Regions from separate parts of the Homo sapiens genome. Here region 2 is linked to region 1. Evidence: promoter capture Hi-C in 16 types of primary human blood cells and fetal thymus (Javierre and others, 2016). All regions are on one chromosome and are shown on one strand. The core of a region is centred on a gene start or on the middle of the fragment in contact, and the rest is flanking DNA. Distances in the headings are between cores, read along the strand shown.

What was found. The method cuts DNA at HindIII sites, captures the fragments that hold promoters and counts their contacts. A CHiCAGO score of 5 or more calls a contact.
Region 2: a contact is called between a fragment that was not itself captured here and the fragment with the promoter of IL2 in region 1, in 1 of 17 cell types (endothelial precursors). The highest score is 5.1, in endothelial precursors.

The regions. Positions count from the first base shown.
Region 1 is chr4:122,454,601-122,458,299 of GRCh38, reverse strand. IL2 (interleukin 2) reads left to right here and starts at 1,575. Exons shown (of 4, transcript NM_000586.4): 1 at 1,575-2,006; 2 at 2,097-2,156. The coding sequence starts at 1,860. The HindIII fragment of the contact is 2,130 bases long and covers 800-2,929 here.
Region 2 is chr4:122,038,359-122,042,057 of GRCh38, reverse strand. No RefSeq gene overlaps it. Among named protein-coding and RNA genes, the nearest start is that of TRPC3, 88 kb to the right of the region's middle. The HindIII fragment of the contact is 3,049 bases long and covers 134-3,182 here.

The sequences.
Region 1 (3,699 bases), core at 326-2,825:
GCCCCTTATAACAGCGTTAATGTGATTTTGATCTGAAATGTATAGAGACATTTTGCATTTTTTCGTATAAAAAGTTCATGAGATTTGGCCCTAATCTGACCTTTTCTTCATTTTTTTTTCTACTTGAGGGACTATAATCTTTATTTTTAAATTTGTTTTATATTCTCCGAACATTACCTAACGCATAGAAAACTCTTATTGAACCATTTTTCTCTGTTCTTTGTAAAATATTACATTTGACTGTTCCTTAGACTGCTTTAATCATTCCTGCCTATGCACCCTCCTCAAAATCCAGTTTAAATTAATTGTTCCTTATTCAAGATTCCTTATATCCACCTCCCTTGGGGCAGCAATCACCTATCACCCAGGACTACACTTGTGTATGTACATATCTTCCCTATTACAAATCAGGTTCTTTGAAAAAATACAAATGGTAAGAGAGTGGATTTTTGGAGTCAGAACATTCTCTTTTCAAATCCTTCTTCTGCCCCTTACTGGCAATAAGGGCTGAGTGACCTAGAGCAAATTACTTAACTTCTCTGAGCCTCAGTTTTCTAATCTGCAAAATAGGAGCCATCACTTCACAAGTCTGTAAGACTTATATTAGACTAAGTGCCTGCCTGTACACTGTTCTCTTTTCTCTCTTTCTATATACCTGAAGGCATTATAGGTGCTAGATGTCTGTTTAAAGACCAGACAATATTGTCTTAAAAAAACAAACAAAAACACAGACAATACCATCTTTAAAAAAAAAAAAAAAGTCCAGGTAAGAAATAAATAAGGCCATAGAATGGAAGCTTTACAAGGACTCTCTCTGAGACAGGATCTCCTCAAGTGTCCCCAGGTTAAATTAGAAGTATATATCCGTACAATTGTTCAGCCAGTTTGTGCACTGTACTGAGGATGAATGAACACCTATCCTAAATATCCTAGTCTTCTGACTAAAAACAAGATCATATTTCATAACGATTATTGTTACATTCATAGTGTCCCAGGTGATTTAGAGGATAAATAAAAATCCATTAAAGAGGTAAAGACATAAAAACGAGAAACATGGACTGGTTTACACATAACACATACAAAGTCTATTATAAAACTAGCATCAGTATCCTTGAATGCAAACCTTTTTCTGAGTATTTAACAATCGCACCCTTTAAAAAATGTACAATAGACATTAAGAGACTTAAACAGATATATAATCATTTTAAATTAAAATAGCGTTAAACAGTACCTCAAGCTCAATAAGCATTTTAAGTATTCTAATCTTAGTATTTCTCTAGCTGACATGTAAGAAGCAATCTATCTTATTGTATGCAATTAGCTCATTGTGTGGATAAAAAGGTAAAACCATTCTGAAACAGGAAACCAATACACTTCCTGTTTTATCAACAAATCTAAACATTTATTCTTTTCATCTGTTTACTCTTGCTCTTGTCCACCACAATATGCTATTCACATGTTCAGTGTAGTTTTATGACAAAGAAAATTTTCTGAGTTACTTTTGTATCCCCACCCCCTTAAAGAAAGGAGGAAAAACTGTTTCATACAGAAGGCGTTAATTGCATGAATTAGAGCTATCACCTAAGTGTGGGCTAATGTAACAAAGAGGGATTTCACCTACATCCATTCAGTCAGTCTTTGGGGGTTTAAAGAAATTCCAAAGAGTCATCAGAAGAGGAAAAATGAAGGTAATGTTTTTTCAGACAGGTAAAGTCTTTGAAAATATGTGTAATATGTAAAACATTTTGACACCCCCATAATATTTTTCCAGAATTAACAGTATAAATTGCATCTCTTGTTCAAGAGTTCCCTATCACTCTCTTTAATCACTACTCACAGTAACCTCAACTCCTGCCACAATGTACAGGATGCAACTCCTGTCTTGCATTGCACTAAGTCTTGCACTTGTCACAAACAGTGCACCTACTTCAAGTTCTACAAAGAAAACACAGCTACAACTGGAGCATTTACTGCTGGATTTACAGATGATTTTGAATGGAATTAATGTAAGTATATTTCCTTTCTTACTAAAATTATTACATTTAGTAATCTAGCTGGAGATCATTTCTTAATAACAATGCATTATACTTTCTTAGAATTACAAGAATCCCAAACTCACCAGGATGCTCACATTTAAGTTTTACATGCCCAAGAAGGTAAGTACAATATTTTATGTTCAATTTCTGTTTTAATAAAATTCAAAGTAATATGAAAATTTGCACAGATGGGACTAATAGCAGCTCATCTGAGGTAAAGAGTAACTTTAATTTGTTTTTTTGAAAACCCAAGTTTGATAATGAAGCCTCTATTAAAACAGTTTTACCTATATTTTTAATATATATTTGTGTGTTGGTGGGGGTGGGAAGAAAACATAAAAATAATATTCTCACTTTATCGATAAGACAATTCTAAACAAAAATGTTCATTTATGGTTTCATTTAAAAATGTAAAACTCTAAAATATTTGATTATGTCATTTTAGTATGTAAAATACCAAAATCTATTTCCAAGGAGCCCACTTTTAAAAATCTTTTCTTGTTTTAGGAAAGGTTTCTAAGTGAGAGGCAGCATAACACTAATAGCACAGAGTCTGGGGCCAGATATCTGAAGTGAAATCTCAGCTCTGCCATGTCCTAGCTTTCATGATCTTTGGCAAATTACCTACTCTGTTTGTGATTCAGTTTCATGTCTACTTAAATGAATAACTGTATATACTTAATATGGCTTTGTGAGAATTAGTAAGTAAATGTAAAGCACTCAGAACCGTGTCTGGCATAAGGTAAATACCATACAAGCATTAGCTATTATTAGTAGTATTAAAGATAAAATTTTCACTGAGAAATACAAAGTAAAATTTTGGACTTTATCTTTTTACCAATAGAACTTGAGATTTATAATGCTATATGACTTATTTTCCAAGATTAAAAGCTTCATTAGGTTGTTTTTGGATTCAGATAGAGCATAAGCATAATCATCCAAGCTCCTAGGCTACATTAGGTGTGTAAAGCTACCTAGTAGCTGTGCCAGTTAAGAGAGAATGAACAAAATCTGGTGCCAGAAAGAGCTTGTGCCAGGGTGAATCCAAGCCCAGAAAATAATAGGATTTAAGGGGACACAGATGCAATCCCATTGACTCAAATTCTATTAATTCAAGAGAAATCTGCTTCTAACTACCCTTCTGAAAGATGTAAAGGAGACAGCTTACAGATGTTACTCTAGTTTAATCAGAGCCACATAATGCAACTCCAGCAACATAAAGATACTAGATGCTGTTTTCTGAAGAAAATTTCTCCACATTGTTCATGCCAAAAACTTAAACCCGAATTTGTAGAATTTGTAGTGGTGAATTGAAAGCGCAATAGATGGACATATCAGGGGATTGGTATTGTCTTGACCTACCTTTCCCACTAAAGAGTGTTAGAAAGATGAGATTATGTGCATAATTTAGGGGGTGGTAGAATTCATGGAAATCTAAGTTTGAAACCAAAAGTAATGATAAACTCTATTCATTTGTTCATTTAACCCTCATTGCACATTTACAAAAGATTTTAGAAACTAATAAAAATATTTGATTCCAAGGATGCTATGTTAATGCTATAATGAGAAAGAAATGAAATCTAATTCTGGCTCTACCTACTTATGTGGTCAAATTCTGAGATTTAGTGTGCTTATTTATAAAGTGGAGATGATACTTCACTGC
Region 2 (3,699 bases), core at 409-2,908, 420 kb after region 1:
AAAACAACTCACAATATTGCTCTTATTTTTCTCATTTTGGTGGAGGTGGAGTGGGGGAACTTAAGAAGATATCAGGAACTCATGCTTGGAAATGATTGCTCTGCCATCTCACAGGACAATAACACAGCAAGCTTTCCTTATTTAAGAGCACTTTAAAACTTAAATGAGTTTTCTTGAGGAAATACTTATTTTGCACAAATTAACAGGAAATTCTTCATTTTCTGAATTATAACCAGTACTGTTAGTACATTATCATAAGTAGATAACAGATCTCACTAGCTAAATCCACAATTTGGATAGTCATGTTAGTGTGATTTGCAAACTTTGGTTACATACGTCGTTGGAGGATCCAAAACTATTGACACAATTGGTGGGTCAGTGATGAAGAATTAGTTACTGGGGTTGAAAAACTTTCCTTGCATAGCGTGTTCCCAGGCTTGCCTTGATCCAGTGTTACATACCAGTGACTGGCATGCTGCAGTGAAGTGGAGAGCAAAATGTGTTCTGGATTCCTCTCCAAAATAAGCTATCCACATTCTCATGTTGTGAGGCCACTAAGAAGAGCCTGTTGGGTGACACATTCAGTTTCTCCCCGACCAATCCTGGCTGGCAAGGTGCAGACACAGTGTGTCCCACAGATCCGAGGCACCAGCTAGCAACTGGGCGTCTTCGACAAGTTCTCAGAGAGGCTGTCTGAATGTTCTCAATAGCTCCTTTCTATAGCTGCCAATGAAATTACTAGGATCTACACAAGACATATTGAGTGAATCAAGTTATTTTCATAATCAATGTTTTGGACTAAAATGTATCAGAGTGATACGGAATATTCAAGGCATTTTACCCTTGACATTTGTTTCTACACATGTGTCATAACTTTTGAGATAGTGAGAAGGCTTTTCTACTTGTTTAGCAGTGGAAAACATTTCCACCCCTCTTTGGCTTCTTACAATAGTTTTGTGGAAATTAAAACAAAGAGAGCAAAAACATTTTGAATTAAATGCTAGGAAATGTTGGATACAGGCAACTCAATGCCTGAAAAATAAGGAGGTGAATTTATTTCTTTGGCCACATTTTATGTACAATTGAAAGTCGTATATGCATTGTTAAAATTTATAAAGATATCCATCGATATGGTTTGGCTCTGTGTCTCCACCTAAATCTCATGTTGAATTGTAATCCCTAATGTTAGGGGAGGGACCTGGTGGGAGGTGATTGGATCATGGGGGCAGATTTTCCCCTTGCAATACTCGTGATAGTGAGTGAGTTCTCATCAGATCTGATGGTTTAAAAGTGTGTGACACTTCCCCCTTCGCTCTCTCCTTCTCTCCTGCTCTGCCATGGTAAGACATGCTTGCTTCCCCTTCACCTTCTGTCATGATTGTAAGTTTCCTGAGGCCTCCCAGCCATGCTTCCTGTACAGCCTGCAGAACTGTAAGTCAATTAAACCTCTTTTCTTTGTAAATTACCCAGTCTTAGGTAGCTCTTTATAGCAGTGTGAAAACGGATTAATACACCCATGAATACATTTAACTTAAAGTCAGACTTGTGATATTTAAGAGTAAGTGCATTTCCTGGTTCAAATAAACCAACTCTAAAGGGCTTCTTTAGGACAGTAGAGGAACGTTAAATATTATCTAAAAATTAAATGCTAATAAGGAATAATTGTTACTTTCATAAGGTATGATAATAAAATTGTGGGTTATAGTAAAATACCCTGGTTTTTCAGGGATGCATTTTGAAATATTTGGGGGTGAAATATCATGGTTTCCATAATGTTTTAAAATACTTTAGATTTATGAAACAAATATGCCACAATAATAATTTTTTATGAGACAGGGTCTCACTCTGTTGCCCAGATTGCAGTACAGTGGGGCAAACATGGTTCGCTGCAGCCTCAACCTCCCAGGCTCAAGTGATCCTCCCACTTCAGCCTCACAAGTAGCTCAGGTATGTGCCACCACACCTGGATAATTTTTAAATTTTTCGTAGAGACACAGTCTTGCCATGGTGCTCAGGTTGGTCTTAAATTCCTGGGCTCAAGCAATCCTCCCACCTTGGCCTCCCAAAGTGCTGGGATTATAGGTATGAGTCACTACACTTGACCAACAATTATTTTTTAAAGGTGATATGTATGTATTTATTATGCTAGTCCCTCTTCTTTTCTATATGTTTAACATTTTTCATAATAAAAGTGAAAACAAAAGAAGGATACATATATTGTATGCTTGTGTTTTCCTTTCGGGGAATATAATAGAGGGAAGTTAACAGATCTTGAATTATACTTTACAAAATTGATGCTAATCTTGAAAGAAACATCTACTTTGGTTTCCTATAAGCCTTCCTTCCCTTCTGAAAGGCTCTCTTTCTAATTTTGATTCAATCCTACTTATGTCCTTAACTACTGTCCATAGACACCCTTATAGCAATCAGAATAATTTTGATATTGCTGTGATCTGAACCCAAACAAGCACAAGATTCAAATTTTGTTTTATTTAATTTGATGAGTTTCAAATGTGTGCGCTTTCATTAAGCAGGTGATTTAGAGATCAGATAATGAGGCTGACACAGCCTTCTGAATGAGGAAAAGCACAGCATAATTGAAGTCAGCTAACAGGATTTCCAGCAGGGAATGATTTCCCTGAGTGTGTGATCTGATTTCCTTTGATGTTTGTATTACAGTAATAACATTAATAGCATCCCAAACAACACTTAATGAAATTTTAGACTTGCTATATGTGAGGACTCCCCTGTTATCAAACTTGGCTGTTTCTACACAGTTTCTCTCAGATGTACAATTCAACACGTGGGAAAGCCAGGACAGTAAAGGACACATTTTAGCTTTGGATTCTGGGCCAAATATTCCTGCTTTCTTTATAATTCTGTGTACTACCCCTGCTTAAACTTAGGCAGATGTTGAGGTGAGAAAGTAGATGGCTCAACATTAATTCGGCAGGAGTACAGGACTAATGACTAAGCAAGTCCTATTGATGGTTGGCAGTGACAGTACCTTAATGTACAAGGAATAGTGCATTTTCACACTTTCAGAAAATTGTTTATATCACTTTTAAATGATTTAGAAATACAGTAGTGCTAACATAAGGAATCAAGGACTGCAATTACTACCTGCAATTTTATTAACAGTGAGTCAGTAAAAAAATATTGAACTGTGTCTTTAAAAAGCTTTTCAATGAGTGATTAACACCCAGAGAAAGGTGGGGTGGGAGAGAGAGAGAGATCATCCTGATTCACTGTCATATAAATTTGGAATATGAAAATTCATCTCTCCCCAGAAATGTTTGAAAAATAGGAGAACAGGTTCTCGCTCTCTGTTAACTCATGCCTGACTGTGACGGCTAATTCCTAGGAGTGAATTGTAAGTATCGAGGTTAAAAGATTTTCCAGATCTGATGGAAATGATTTTATACTTTGTGTATATTTGGACAAAAGGCTTGGTTCTCAGGTCAGAATGAAAAATGGGGTTGGGAGTTAGTGGGAATCTATGGCTAGTTGATGAGTTAAGAATATTTTTCAATGATTCCTTAAAGTCACACTAAAACTAAGCAATTAATTATAAGACAAGAAATTAGTAAAAGTAGGAAATTATTGACAATTGCAAGGAAAAACAGTTGTAAGTCCTACCAGTGGAGATAGAATCTACATTAATATGGGCCTAAGTTGCCAAATTTCAAGATCAAGCAT